Regions from separate parts of the Homo sapiens genome. Here region 2 is linked to region 1. Evidence: promoter capture Hi-C in 16 types of primary human blood cells and fetal thymus (Javierre and others, 2016). All regions are on one chromosome and are shown on one strand. The core of a region is centred on a gene start or on the middle of the fragment in contact, and the rest is flanking DNA. Distances in the headings are between cores, read along the strand shown. Region 1 holds the start of LINC00620 (long intergenic non-protein coding RNA 620). Region 2 overlaps LOC105376957 (a long non-coding RNA gene).

Evidence for each region. Contacts are between HindIII fragments. The CHiCAGO score rates a contact against its expected background, and 5 or more counts as called.
Region 2: a contact is called between a fragment that was not itself captured here and the fragment with the promoter of LINC00620 in region 1, in 2 of 17 cell types (non-activated CD4 T cells and naive CD4 T cells). The highest score is 5.6, in non-activated CD4 T cells.

What each region holds. Positions count from the first base shown.
Region 1 is chr3:13,646,918-13,654,359 of GRCh38, forward strand. LINC00620 (long intergenic non-protein coding RNA 620) reads left to right here and starts at 3,804. Exons shown (of 6, transcript NR_027103.1): 1 at 3,804-3,916. It overlaps LOC100293612 (a long non-coding RNA gene), which reads right to left and starts at 7,261. Exons shown (of 2, transcript XR_110033.3): 1 at 7,174-7,261; 2 at 196-1,559. RefSeq lists an enhancer at 1,282-1,441. The HindIII fragment of the contact is 11,588 bases long and covers 1-7,442 here.
Region 2 is chr3:13,896,307-13,903,748 of GRCh38, forward strand. LOC105376957 (a long non-coding RNA gene) reads left to right here. Exons shown (of 3, transcript XR_001740602.3): 2 at 1,997-2,050; 3 at 7,334-7,442. Among named protein-coding and RNA genes, the nearest start is that of WNT7A, 20 kb to the left of the region's middle. The HindIII fragment of the contact is 1,445 bases long and covers 4,197-5,641 here.

The DNA of each region.
Region 1 (7,442 bases), core at 2,554-5,053:
TACTTTATTTAGCTTTCCTTTGCTTTTATTTAATGTCCTTTTTCTGTCCCAGGACCTCCTCTGGGATACACATTACGGTTTCTTAGACTAGCTCTGGGATTTTGTTTTTGTTTTGAGATGGGGGGGGGTCTCTCTGTGTTGCCCAGGCTGGTCTTGAACTCCTGGTCTCAAGTAATCTTCTCACTTTAGCCTCCCAAAGTGCTGGGACTACAGGTACACGCCGCCATGCCTGGCTCTTGCCTTGGTTTTGACGATTTTGACAGTTGAGGAGGACTGGCCCGATACATCGTAGGATGCCCGCTACTGGGGTTTGTCTGACACTTTTCTCATGATTAGACTGGGATTGTGGGTCTGGGGAGGAAGATCACAGAGGTAAAGTGCCCTGATCAGCACATCCAATGGAGGGCAGCTGCTGTCAACATGAGGCATCCCTTGTGATGCTGGCGTTGCCCATCTGGCTGAGGTCGTGCTGATTGGGTCTCTCCACTGTGAAGTTTCTCTTCCTCCCCACTCGCTGCAGTGCACTCTTTGGTGCACATATTTGCAGTTGCTTTGCAGCCTGGTGTTACGGATGCCACTCGGCTCCCTGATTGTGTAGTCAGCAGTGTTAAGTGTTCCTTCCTGTTGGCGCACATCTTGTCTGTTGCTGGTGCCTGCTACGGAGTCCTCCGAGGGGCACCCCACACTTTCCCTGGGATCACGTGTCCAGGCTGCTCCCAGGTACGCACCCCACAGACTCTGCTGCAGAGAAGGGGGCCCATTTGTGGACTTCCCTGGACATGCAACCAAGGAGCGAACTGCTGATCATGGGTGTCTGTACTCCAGTTTTGACCCCATTTTTTCAGGCTGCCCTCCAGAAAGCCTGTGCGTCCCCATCAATCATCCCACTTCCTGAGATGTGCCAAGTGGAGGGGCGTGCCGCGCTTGCTTGCCGGCTGTTCTGCACACGGGCGCTAAGGGTTCTGCTTTCTCTGAGTCACTGAGCTACACCCAAAACCAGCATCCCATCCTGTGGGCTGTAGGCTCAAGTGGGTCATTGCTTGGCTTGGGCACAATATTTAGAAAAGTTTTGAGCCAACATGTCAACACTGAGGAATTTCACGTGCCCTTTTAGGTTTTGGGCTGCTCTGGAAACCCCAAACTGCTTCTTTCTTATGGTTCCCAAGGTAAATCTGTTCTTCTCAACGTTTTTCATTTGGAAGACCCCGTTGCCCCACAGCACCTTATGGCTTCTGCAAAATAGACTGGGTCCACTGCAAAGCCCTGTCTCCAGGCAGAGCTTTTCCCGCCAAGGGCTGGGCAGCCTGGCTGGAGGCAGTGAGCACCCATCGCAGGAGGTATCAGAGCGGCCCCAGCAGGTCCCGGGTGTGGGATGGGGCCACTGACGTTCCCCTCGTTTAGCTTCCATAGCTTTGTGAGACAGGCATTCTCCTCGCCTGCCGCTCTGCAAGCTGGTGGGACAGAAGCACCTTCCAGCTTTGTGGATGAGTTCTGACGCAGCTGCGGGGCAACAGTGCCCCCTCGTGGCTGCAGCCCCAGCCTGGCCGCTCTGCCTGCAACTAATGGAGGGGTGGATTTGGACAAGTGGCACGGGGGAAAGGTGTTTCTGACTGCAGGAAGGGCTGCAAGGCTTTCCCACAGCCAGTGTGGCTGGAGGGAAAGGTGCGGTGGGAGCAGAGGCCAGAGGTCTGTGGGGACCAAGTGGGGAGAGGATGGGATACTGAGTGAGGGGTGGTCCTTGAGGGAATTTGGGCAGAGTGGCCACCCCTCCCTTGAACAGTAGGTCTGTCCATGATCCCAAGGGCTCCCTGGGGTCTGCTCCTCTGACCCATTCCTAAGACCAAGGGATTCCAACCACAGGAATCTTCCTGCAAACAGATTTGTGGGCTGGCTTGGCCTGGCCTGCTCTGCCATGGATGGAACCATCGTTGATAGCTAGGGGCTTTAATGATGGAACTGTGGGCAAAATGCACCCCCAAGGGAATGGAGGTGACTCAGTTCCACCAGCATCTACCGGCAGCCCCTGCCGTGTCCAGGCTCTGTGCTGGCAGGCTCTGCGTTGCTCAGATCCTGTTCCCACCTACAACCTGGAGGGAGGGCTCCCAGCCCCATCTATAGAGGTGGAAACTGAGGTTCAGAGAGAGTGTATGACTTGCCTAGGGCCACACAGGGATTCAACTCTGTAAGGGAAACCTCATTGCTCAGGAGAATGAGAAGAAAAGCCACAGACTGGGAGAAAATATTTGCAAAGGACATAGCTGATAAATGACTATTATCCAAAATCTACAAATAACTCTTAACACTCAATAATAGGAAAACAACCCAATTAAAAAGTGGGCAGAAGATCTAAACAGACACCTCATTCAAGAAGATACACAGATGGCAAATAAGCACCTGAAAGATGCTCCACATAGGTATATCATTAGGGAGCTGCAAGTTAAACCAACCATGAGATACTGCCACGCACCTACTGGAGTGGCTCATATCCAAAGCACTAACACACCAAATGCTGGCGAGGATGTGGAGCACCAGGAACTCACATTCATTGCTGGTGGGAATGCAAAATGGCACAACCACTTTGGAAAACAGTTTGGCTGTTTTTTTTTTTTTTTTTTTTTTTTTTTTTTTTTTTCAGACAGGGTCTTTCTCTGTCACCCAGGCTGGAGTGCAGTGAAGCAATCACGATTCACTGCAGCCTCAACCTACCAGGCTCATGTGATTCTCCCACCTCAGCCTCTTGAGTAGCTGGGACTACAGGCATGCACCACCACGCCCAACTGATTTTTGTATTTTTTGTAGAGGCGGGGTTTTGCCATGTGGCCCAGCCAATCTGAAGCCAATCTGAAAAGGCTACACACTGTATGATTCCAACAATACAACATTCTGGAAAAGGCAAAACTATGGGAACAGTAAAAAGATCTGTGGTTGCCAGGGGTTAGGGGGAAGGGAGCACAGGGGATTACGGGTGGAGTTTAGAGAATTTTTTGGGCGGTGACACTATTCTGTGTGATACAATAATGGTGGATAAGGGTCGTTGTACATTTGTCCAAACACATGGAATGTACAGCTTCAAGAATGAGCCCTCACGTAAACCATGGGCTGTGGGTGACACTGATGTGGCAGTGCAGGTCCCTCATGCACCCCTCTGCTGGGGATGTTGATAGAGGGGAGGTTGTGCACGTGTAGGGGCAGGGAGTGTGTGGGAACTCTCTGTACTTTCTGCTCAGTTTTCCTGGGAACCTAAAACTGTTCTAAAAAATTAAGTCTACTTAAAAAACAAAACATAACAGCCCACTGCGTGGCCCTCCCCATACTCCCAAAGCTCACATTCTAGTGGGGAGTCAGACACAGAAACAGACACAACCATGTTGGCAGTCACTGCAATGATGAGGCAGACACAGGGGGCTGTGGAAACTCAAGAGGGGCCATTATAGTGGCATCAGGGAAGGCTTCCTGGAGGAGGTGTTGCCTCCAGTGGGTTTTGACGTGCAGCAGGAATCACCCAGCCGGAGATCAGGGCAGGCACTGCAGGCAGCATGCTCAAAGGCACGAAGGAGTGAGGTGGTGGGGGAGCAGCGGAAGTTCCTAGCGCAGCGTGGGGGTGCTCTGTGCACAGATAAGTTGCGGGCCGCGGGAAACAGGACCCTGGGGGGCCCCCTAGAGCCTCGCGGAGCGGCTTGCAGAGGAGCCTCGGGGCCACGGCGTGTGTGCAGCGACACCTGGCGGTGGCATGCGGAACTGCGGACGGCTGCGCAGGAGCGGACAGCGGAGAGGCGGTACTGACCGGTGCGAGGCGGTGCTGACCGGTGCGGGCCGGTGCGGGCCAGTGCAGGCCAGGCCCGGCCGGGGCGAGGCAGGTGGCCAGGTCCGAGGACCGCGTCGCACAGCAGCTTTCAGGACCTGGAGAGAAATCGAGGTGGGGGTGCGTGAACGTGGATGGGCAGAAATAACATCTTTTGTACTCTAATTGGAACATAGCATGTCCTTTAATTATGAACGCAATGAGCTATAGTAGCACTACTGATTTCAGAGATGGCGCAATCTCGCTTTCCTTCCTTAGTACTTTGAAATTGCAGTGGGTATTAGACCCGCTGCTAGACCGTGTCATTCACTGGGTTAAGAAGGAAGCCCAGGTAGCGCCACGTCACAGACCCCTTTTAGTATTCTGATAACTATAATTTAAATCTAATCGGCATTTAAGAGCCTACAGGCTTGCCCAGACTGCCAAAGGCGTCTCTGGCACACACACACGCACACACACTAACATGCACACAAGCAGACACACATGCACGCAGACACGCACATGAACACATGCACACGCACACTTGCATGTACACACGTGTGTACACATACACACATGCATGGTTGAGAACCTCTCTGGAGAGGAAAGGCAACACCAGTGTGTCCGCTATGTAGTGGTTTATCAGACAGTTTATTGTGGACATGGACATGAATAAGAAAGGGGCACTGCTAATTAGGCCAAGGCAGTGGATATGAGGTGGGACTGTCCCTAGCACACTGGGACCAGGGCTACCCTGAGGCCTGCAGGACACCGGGAGCTGTGTGTGAGTTTGCATCTCTGTAGGCGCGTGGCTGTGAGTGTGGGGGAACCTGGTGAAACGCATCTGAGGAGGGGAGGGGGTGTCTGCCACTGTTCTGGGTGTGTGTGTATGTGTGTGTGTGTGTGTGTGTATAGGGCATTCTGATCTCTAGTACCTGGGTTCTAGCAGATGCCTGACCTACAGCCCTGTGTTCAGCCTGGTCATTCCAGCTCTCAGAGAGACCTTGCCCAGCCATTTCCTGGGGTAGCAAATGGTCTGGAACCAGTCTGTCTTGCCTCCCCTGAGGGAGACAGGCGGGCTACTTGTGTAGCCTTCTTACCTCACTAAACTCTTCCTTCCTTCCATGATGATCCCCGTTTTACAGACACAGAAACTGAGGCCCAGAAGAGCTGAATATTTGGCCCAGGCCACACAGGGAGTCCAGCCACGGGTGATGAGGGGCTGAGGATCGGGGAGGGACAGGAAACCTGGCCTTTCTGAGCCTTGCTGTCCTTATCTGCTGCGTCAGGAGGTGAGAGGAAGATGTTTGGGGCTGAGCTAGCAGAGAGGACACTGAGCTTTTGGCCTCTCCCCTGTGTAAACCCCACCATGACTCCCCATTGCCACGGCATCAAGTCCCAGTTCCATGGCCTGACATTCCGGTCCCTGCCCCCTTCAGATTCATTGCCCATCACTCCCCGTCCACTCCCTGCACTCCAGCCACCCTGGCCACCAGCCCTTCCTAGCACCCTCCAAGACCCTTCTCATCTCCACGCCTCTGCCCATTCTGTACCTGGCAAACTCCTACGCATCCTGCAATGCTCAGCTCTGAGCACCCCACACAGAGTTGGCATCTGCCTGCTGTGTGCCCCCACCGCCCTCACACATCCCTGCAGGTAGTCCTTCTCAGGACTGATGCAGCAAAATAAGATCCGAGTCCCCAGCACCTAGCACCGTGCATAAAGCAGGCACTAACAAATGCGTGTCGAATGAATAAGCAAATGTGTGCGTGCACACTCCACCCGCCCCCCTCCTCATGAACTGCTTGAGAGAAGGGCTGGGTCCTTTCCAGCTACTCAGGTGGCAATCGGAGTTTGTCCAATGTCCAGGCTGGAGCCAGAGTTGAAGGGAGGAGCAGGCTGGGGGTGGTGGTGGCTGCATTTGGTGTTAGGAGGCCCAGGCTGGGCCTGTGAGCTGGACACCCCACCCCAACACCTGAGGTATCTGCTCCAGGTCCCTCTCTGCATGCTCCTGGATGGGGCTTGGCTGTGGCTTCCACTCAGGCCCCTGGATATCCCCACTGCAGCTTGGCCCTCTGTGACTCACTCTTTCTTGGCCCTAAAGGTCAGTGCAGGGCCAGGCCTCGTCCTCTTCTCTGTCCATTTATCAGGTCGGAAGCTCAAGGCTGACCTGGCTGGGGCCAAGGTTTATGTGCTTGTTCACCCCACCCAGCACCTCTGACCTTGTGAAACATGCCAGGAAGGGTGGGGACAGGAAGGTGACACTAGGGCCTCTGTGTCTGCCCCGGGGCACTGTCAGCTGGGTCAGGATTTATGCCCTGATGTTCCCACCCCCAGACCTGGTCACCAGGCCCACGCCCTAGGTCTGGTGCTGAGCCATCCCTGCAGGGGGCCCAGCAAAGCCTGAGGGCTGGGAGCTGGCTGGGGTGCGGGGTGGGCCGGGGTTGGGGGTTGGCAGGAGGCAACTGCAGATTAGGTCCCAAGTGAACACTGCTAGCGTCTTTGTCCTGCTGAGAGACATCGGCTGGGACATCTTGCCTCCTGGGGCCTGTTTCCGCAACTGTAAATGGGCATTGCCTTAGTAGCCACCCTTTGGGGCTCTTGGATAGCACATGTCCACAGAACCTCAGCTAATGTGCCTGCCTGCAGTGTTCCCCATTTTCTTTTGGGGAGCTCCCCTTGCCAGTACCAACGCACATGGTCTTTGCTGGGCCATCCTTTGCACACTGTATCTCCAGACCTGGGGCTTGAGAGGGCGCCTCCTCAACAAGGGCCCCAAACGTGGGCTGGGGCTCCAGGGGCAGGAGGTAAGGGAAGAGGTGGTTTTAGTGGGTTTGCTGGCAGCAATCTGAATCCAGGGGTTGCAGCGGAAGGAATTGGAGATGGGAGGAGGCGCAAGGCCAGTTGGATCAGGGGATACGCAGGAGATGGTGTCTTTGGTCACCCAGTTGCTCAGTCGGAAACCTGGACAGCCTGGCCCCTGCCCGTCCCCTCATCTCCTAGCCAGCGGTGAGTCTTGCACAGCCCTCCGCCCACCCACTCCAGCACTCGCCACTTCCTGCCTCTTCCCCTACCTCTACTGCCCCGGCCTGCTTCCACTACCTGCGTCTCTCACCGACGTCACTGCAATCGCCTCCTCGGAGGCCTCTGCCTCCTCTCTTCTCCACACCCTCACCCTCCATTGTCACTACCTTGCTCCTCACAGCTGGCTAAGCCATTATGACTAATGACTGTTCTCAGCTCCCAGCCCCATGGTTTCCATCACACCAGGATACAGTCACATTCCTTGCCGTGGCCTGTGAGACCCACAGAGTCCTGGCACTGCCGCCCCCTGAACCTCCTCTCCCTCCCCTTTCTCTGCCGTGTCCACAGCTCAGTGAGCCCATTCCCACCTCGGGGCCTTTGCACTTGCCGGTCCCTCTGCCTGGCACATGCTGGCTTCAGTGTTCATAAAGCTCCCTCCCTCCCGTCACTCAGGTCTCTCCTCAGATGTCACCTCGTCAGAGTGGCCTGTGCTGACTGCCATATCTACAATACCCTTCCCAACGCCTGGCATCCGCCTCCTCACTCTTGTATGAGTGTCTTCAAGGCACGTTCACTTGTGGCTATTGCTTAATATATTTAGTTGCAGGAGTATAATCTGGGGGCCCCTGGGAGACAG
Region 2 (7,442 bases), core at 3,669-6,168, 250 kb after region 1:
GGAAAAAATGTCCTTTTATTTTAAAATAAAAACATTTAGGTACCAGGCACTGTTCTAGGCAGTGGGGATATAGACGTGAACAAATCAACCAGTAATGCCTGCATACATTCTAGTAGGAGCTGCTGATCCAGTGGTTTGGCACAAGACTTCAGGCAGTGAACATGGGCATGAAGCACTGAGCCCTTAGGTATCTGAGCCGTTGTCACCCACCGTGCCTGTGTGCTTACTGCTGAATTGCTCTAAAACACAGATCTGATCATGTGGCTTAGTTGCCAGCGCCTGTGAGATAAAGACCGTCAGGAGCGGGCCCTAGCCTACTTTTCCAGTTGCATCTCCCCATCCCTTCTGTAAATTTTCAGGAACACCTGGCCACTCACTCTTCCCAGTACATTCCTCTGCTGTGTATTTTCTAAGTGCTGAGCTCAATGTTAGACACGAGATGGCGCCAGAACTGTACTGAAGGCTTTCTCTAATGGCCGCGGAGTACTCCCCTACCTGTTAACTGGCTTGGTTATTGGAACCTTTAGAAAGCCCCTTAGCATTTGTTTTATAGACAGCCCATATATTTTTTAGTATAATTCTCAATGAATTTTATGTATTGAATAAATTTTCTAGATATAAAAAGGAAGGGGAATATTATGAAACTTACTGCCCCAAGGGTTTCGGTACCATCATCTACTCCTCAGAGAGCAAGCCAGGCCGTTTTACTCAGAAGCTCATTAAGGTTCCTAATTCACTCACAATCTCTTCCTACAGTGTTGTTGCCGGGATGCTTTAGGGAACTTGGCCAAGGTAGGGGAAATTCCCTTCTCTTGGTTGGGCTCTGATTTTTTAAACCAAGAATGATTTTTGTAAACCAAAAATTTGGGGAAATTTCCCCCAAAGTCCCATTTTCTCCCCAAGCTAGTATTAGGTAAAAATCAGATATTACCTGCCCTGGTTTCTCAGCAAAATTTATTTGAAATGTGTGAGATTGCAGGCACCTCCCCATCTGAGGAGAGGCCACGAAATGGAATTTCATCCAAAATTAAAACAGATGTGACCTGGTCTCTGCTGGCATCCTTTATAGATGAGTTTCCTACAAAGACAATCTGTTGGGGTGGGGAAAAATCTTAGAACGATAGAAGTAGTTAGTATTTCACCTCACTTTTTAAAATTTGTATTTGTGGCCGTGTAATGTAGTGTACACTATGAGTCAGTTGTATACATCAAGCCTGTGTTTTTCCATGACGAAAAGATTGCTAGAGGACAAATGCCAAGAGCTTTGTTGGTTTTCCCAGGATCTTCTAGCCAAAGGGGAATCACTGGAACCTGAAGGGACCTCTCTAGGAATGTCTTCTGTAGGTTTTGTCTTTTCACATCTCAGCCTCAGTTTCTTCATCTATAAAATGGTACTCACAATGCCTTCTTCATGGAGTTGTGAGAACACAGTGAGATCTTGTGTGTAAAAAGGCTTTGAAAGCTGTGATGCCGGGGCAGGATAAACAGGGCTCCTGTTAGACCACACAGCCATCTTTGGGCATGGTGGAAATGGCACCCCTTTCTCCTGGTGGATCCAAACCCGTGACAGGGTACATGACTTGGTGAGTTGAGCCTTACCGGATTTCAGTCCCACTTGCCCATTTGACCAGGCACCCTAAGGCAAAGTCTGCACAGGGTTGTGACAACACTGTGGATCAAGTCCAAGTTCATACAGAGGAGCCTACCCTGACTGCCTCTCCCCTTCCCACACCCTGTGTTTCTACCAAACTGAAGCCATCAGTGTTTTGAAAGCAAAAGATCATTTCACCCCTCTGTGCCCTTGCATGTACCTTCCCTTACTCTAGGTGCTCTTGGTGAACTCCCACTCAGTCGTTAAGACCCCACTTAAGCAAGTCTTCAAGTCTATCTCATTTGATAACTTCTCCTTTTATGTCCCTCCTCTTCTTCCATCTGAGTACACTCCTCTATCCTAGCCATGACGCAATTATCTTTTCTGTTCTGCTTCTTCTGCTAGTTTTGGACAAAGATGAAGAAACAAATCTAGAGACTGGATGACCTTGGATCTCAGGTAAGTCCATCTTCAGCATGTGAGCTTGTTAACACAGCAGTTTCTTGTGAAGAGCGGTCACTCTGGGAAGAAATTGCCAGACTGTGGAGCTGCTCAAGGCCAGACAGCATGATTTATTCACCTCTTGGTGCCTGGCTTGCACCATGCCCAGGGCCTGACTGTTGGGTGCTGGTAAGTAACTGTGGACTGATTTACTGACTGTGTCTCATAATTGCCTTCCTGCCCTAGCTGTGAACCAAAGCCGTGGAGATGAAGGAACTCTGGGAGTGAGTGAGGGAAGAGCAGTTGGTATACAGACAGGGTGTTCCAGCTGCAAGAGGAGGGGAATGCAGGAATTGTCTTTTAAATTTGTTATCTGCACCTGAACTACACGTATTCTTTATCCTTGTGAAAAATAAAAATAATTGCAGATTAGGCTGAAATCCAGCCTTCACAGAGGTATCTGCTGTTCTAAGTGGATCAATGTCTGCATGTGGTTTATATGTCTATTAGTATACATGCTAGCTGCAGTGCCAGAAAAGCTTCCAAATCTCAGTTGCTTAACACAAAAAAGTTTATCTCTTGCTCAACACACAGTGTGATGTGGTCGGGAGGTGACTCTGGGCAGCTGTTCCAGAAGGTGTCTCAGGGTCTAGGCTCAAAGTAATGCTCATCCCTTGCTTCTAACCTGTGGCAGGAAGATTGAGTGGGACATTTTAGGGGCTCAGCTAGAGGTAGCATATACTGAGTGTTGCATATTCCAACAGCCAGGACTCAGTCACACTGTCTTAAAGTAACTGCAAAGGAGACTGGGAAATGTAGTATTCTTATGTGGGGAAGATTTGTGAGCATCAAGCAGATCTTGCCACAATAGTCATGCCTATCAATAGGTTATATATTGTATTACATGATGGCATGAGTAGGCAGTAGAATAAAAGTGGTTGAATTTTGGATATACATTATTTTGGCTGTAGAGTAGGCAGGGCTTACTGATGGATATACATGGGGGATAAAGGATAAAAGAAACCAAATCTGATTCCTGAGTTTTGGCATGTGCAACATGGGGGTTTGTAACACTGGATTCTTGACAGAGAGGAAAAGAGACTTGGAGCAGGAAAAGTATTATTGGTGTTTTTTTTGTTTTGTTTTGTTTTGTTTTGGTGGGAGGAGTTCTATTTTTCCATTGTTAAGTTTGAATTGCCTATTAGATATTCATGTGGAGAGGTCTGCAAGCCACAGGAGAAGACAGGGAAGTAGATCTACATTTGGGAGGCATAGGCATGTGGACAATATTGAATGCCAGGAAGAGGGTGCAGATAGAGAAGCATGGAGAGCCTTTCTGTGAGTCCTGGGGCACATCAATATCTAGAGATGGAGCAGAGGAGAAGTCTATGACAGAGATAGAAAAGAACATCCAGTTAGGTAGATGGAAAACGAGGTAAATGTAATGACATGGATATCTGAGAAGAGATGATTTCAAGAAGAAAGGTGGGGCCACCTTGCATTGAAGACCACTAAGAAAGTGAGCAGGAGAGTGACTAAGAGGGAACCATTAGTTTTGGCACCATGAATGTTACTTGAGGCTCTCAGTGGAACCAGTGTCCTTTCCTTCAGATGCAGGAAACAGAAGCCAGTTGGATGCATTCTGGGAGAATAGGAGTTGAGGAAATGGAGGCAACAACCATAGATAGATACTTTTTATGACTAAAGAGAATGAGATGAAAGGATACCCACCCAGGGTATTAACACTGGTGGGCTCTGAGATATGGGATCAGGCTCATTCAGGAAAGTCTGTATATTGTTCTCATTTGTGGCCACTGAACTCTCTGTTTTGCTACCATGCAAATCAGCTATGAATTGGAGATATATTTTTTTAAAGTATAGAACTAAGACTCTTGGACTGCTGAGGGGCACTGTGTGTGTGTGTGTGTGTGTGTGTGTGTGTGTGTGTGTCTAGGCATGCTCTCAACACTTGGAGAGGCAGTTCATGACCCTGTCTTAGATTTTACTTCTGGCTCGTGCAGAGCTTCCTGGACAGCCTCAGGTGAGAACCTAGGGCCTTGTCATGTCTTTCCTAGCATACTTATAGTCCTGAGTATGCATGCTATTCCTATGCATGCTTAAAGCCCCCCATGGACACTTTGTTCCCTGGATTTTACTTTTTAAAAGCTTTTTTGGTTAGCTTGTTATTTGATCCACTCTTATCACTACCTCAGGCAGCTGCAGTATTAAACACTTGCCATTGATGATTTTTGATGAATGCCTGTGGAGAAAAGGCCTTTCACACTGCAGGAAATCTGAGTGAGGTAAAATAAAGAGAAGACCTTTGAGTGGCGCTTTCTTAGGAAGCTCCAGATTAAATAAGGACAGTTGTCTAGGATTGGGGTGTTGGATGTTTCAACCTGTTCTTCCTCTCCAGTAGCTGCTAGGTTGCAGATTTTAACTATGATTACTGATTTTTGATTTTCAAAGGTGCTGTGCAGTTGGGATAAAGTGAGTAAGAATAGAGCAATTTATATGCCAAAAGAAATGCTGTCCTTACCAATATTCAGCCATTTTCTTGAATAAATGCTCTCTGGATTATTATAAGATTTTGGTTAATTTCTAGAGTTCTGAAAGACTTGATTTCAATAATTATTGCCTGTGTTCCCATTGCTTTTATGGAGTAGGGGAGTTTTGGAGGTCCTTATTCTGCCATTCCCTTCTGACATCACTCTAGCTGCTATTTCTAGTAACTCCGTTTCCTGTCCAGTCCTCTTTGTGCTTACTCTCTGTTCTATATACTTTCTCTTTCATCTTTTCATCTTCCTTCTGATTATTTTATTGGCTTTCTGCATAATGCAAGATCATGTTTGAAATTACTCAAATGTTATCTTCCCTGAATTGTTTATTTCTGCACCAGTTGTCTTACAATGAGTACTTTTTCAGCTAGGGAAGAGGTCATTTGCAATTGAGCTCTCAATAGTTCTAGAAGGTGAGACATGAAACATACAATAGGACAATTCTGAACAAGGGTATTCCTAAGTTGACTGAAAGAATATTCACAAGGAAAAGCTCTTTGTAAAATTTATTTCAAAAGGAGGGGAGGGAGACTTGAAGCTAGGTACATTCATCTTCAATAAAGCATTGACTGTGGAGAAAGGAAATGAATATAGTAAAATTGGAAGCCAGTTTTTATCTGAGCTCAAAGCTAATTCCTCCAAGGAAAGCAGCATCTCATAGTTATTTGAGGGCATTTGAAGTGTAATTTTGATACAGTTGAGAGAAACTGTGCTAGCAAGAAATATTATAAACATAAAAATGTGGGAAATTATTAGTTCAACCTATGCATGTGTAAAACTTTTTTTAATATAATAATGTGGGACAACTTTCAGTTATAACAAACTTCATAAGACATCAAGAGGTTCATAGTGTAGAGGTTCCTATAAGTGTAATAAATGTAGGAAGGCCTTCACTAGAAAATTCCACTTCATTGTGCATAGAGAAGTCATACTGGAGAGAATTTTTATGATTTTAATTAAAGTAAAAAGCCACAGTACCAGGGGTTAAAATTCTTTAGCCACCCAAAATTTGTAGAAATGATAATCCTAATCAATATAACAAATATGGCAAAGCTTTCTTCAGTGGATAATACTTTATTGTATATCAGAAGAATCACACAGGAGGGGAAATTAGATTCCTATAGCTGCCAAAACAGATAAGCACAAATTGGGTGGCTTAAAACAACAGGAGTTTATTCTCTCACAGCTTAAGAGGCCAGAAGTCAGAAATAAAGGGATTTGGGAAGTTTGTTCCTTCTGGAGGCTCTCAAGAAGAAACTGTTCTATGCCCTTCTCCTAGATTCTGCTGGTTGCCAGTAATTTTTGGCATTGCTTGATGTGTAGCTATATCACTCCAGTCTCCATCCTCACATGGCTTTCTTCTCTGTGTGTGTCTCTGTCTCTTCTACTCTTCTTGTAAGGAAACCAGTCATCATATTTAGGGCATATCCTAATTTCAGTATGACTTTATCTTCAATAATTACATCTGAAAAGACCCCATTCCAAATAAAGTTACATTCCAAGATTCTGGGTGGATGTGAATTTTGAGGGGGAGGTGGACACTATTCAACCCACTACAAACCCCGTGAATGTAGTAAATGTGAGAAACCTTGTACCTGTAGCTCAGTTTCTGTACAACAATAGTAAGAAGTCCTTTGAATGCTAGCAATGTGGGCAGTTCTTTAACTATAAATCATCCTTCATTAGTATTGGAGAATTCATACTGGAGAGAATACAGTATAAACTGTAATTAGTGTGGAAATACTTTTCAAAATAACTTCTCTTTTACTAATGTAAAAACTCCTAATACTCCTAAATCTCATTAATATAGTCAATGTATTAAATTATTTAGATACCTCATTAACCACAGAGAATGCACATTGAAGAGAAACCTCATGATTATGTCACAGAGCCTTTAGCTATAAAGACCTCATTTAGAGAGCAAATAATTTACACTGGAGAAAACATTATCAATTTATTACATTCATCAGAATGTATAAGAGTTCATTAATTACTTGGCATGTAAAGACTCATGCACGTGGATAAACAACATGTGAGAACTCATACAGGTGAAAAGCCAGTTTGGGAAAATCACCTGGAAAAGAAACTTTGTAAATCACTAAATTCATCCTGAGTACATACTGAATTATTCTATTAATTTGGAAAATTTGGAATTCATGTAAACATATTCTAATAAATTGATATTATCAGATACCAAAAAGAAAAACTTATAAGCTTTAAGATTCTTCAGTATAGTGTTTATAATTTTTTGCATAATTTAAATTAATTCAGGTAGCAGAATAAAAATTCAAATACACTGGAAAGGAATAGGAATATGATAGGGTATGATTCAGAGTCCCTACTCTCGTAGTACCTTACTTTTATTTTTTAAACCAACAAGTTAGAAGGGAAACCTATTTATGAGGGTCATGTACCATATTTTATCAAATCAAACTTGTAATGAACTGTGAGATATGCCATTATTTTGTGTACCACTAAGACTTAAAAAACCTCCTAGACTATGGTATTTCATTGATTATAAGATGCATCATGATTCAGAGGTGTTGAAATGTGGGGGTATAAGTGAACCCTACAATGGAGTCTCTAAGCCATATGATAATTCAGTAATATTTCATTAGGTAGAGGGAAAAATGCATTGGATTTGAGCCCAAATTAACAAAATCTAATCTTTTCCTCTCTACCAAAAATCTTGTGCTGAAATAGTAATTGCACTTATTTCTGTAATATTTTGCTTTCTTTTCAGAAATCTTTTTTGGTATTTCAGCATGTGTATGGATGGTATACTAAGAATTGATCACATTTGGTTGTTGAGGGGCCAGGATGGCTGATTGGAAGTAGCTGCAGTCTGTGGC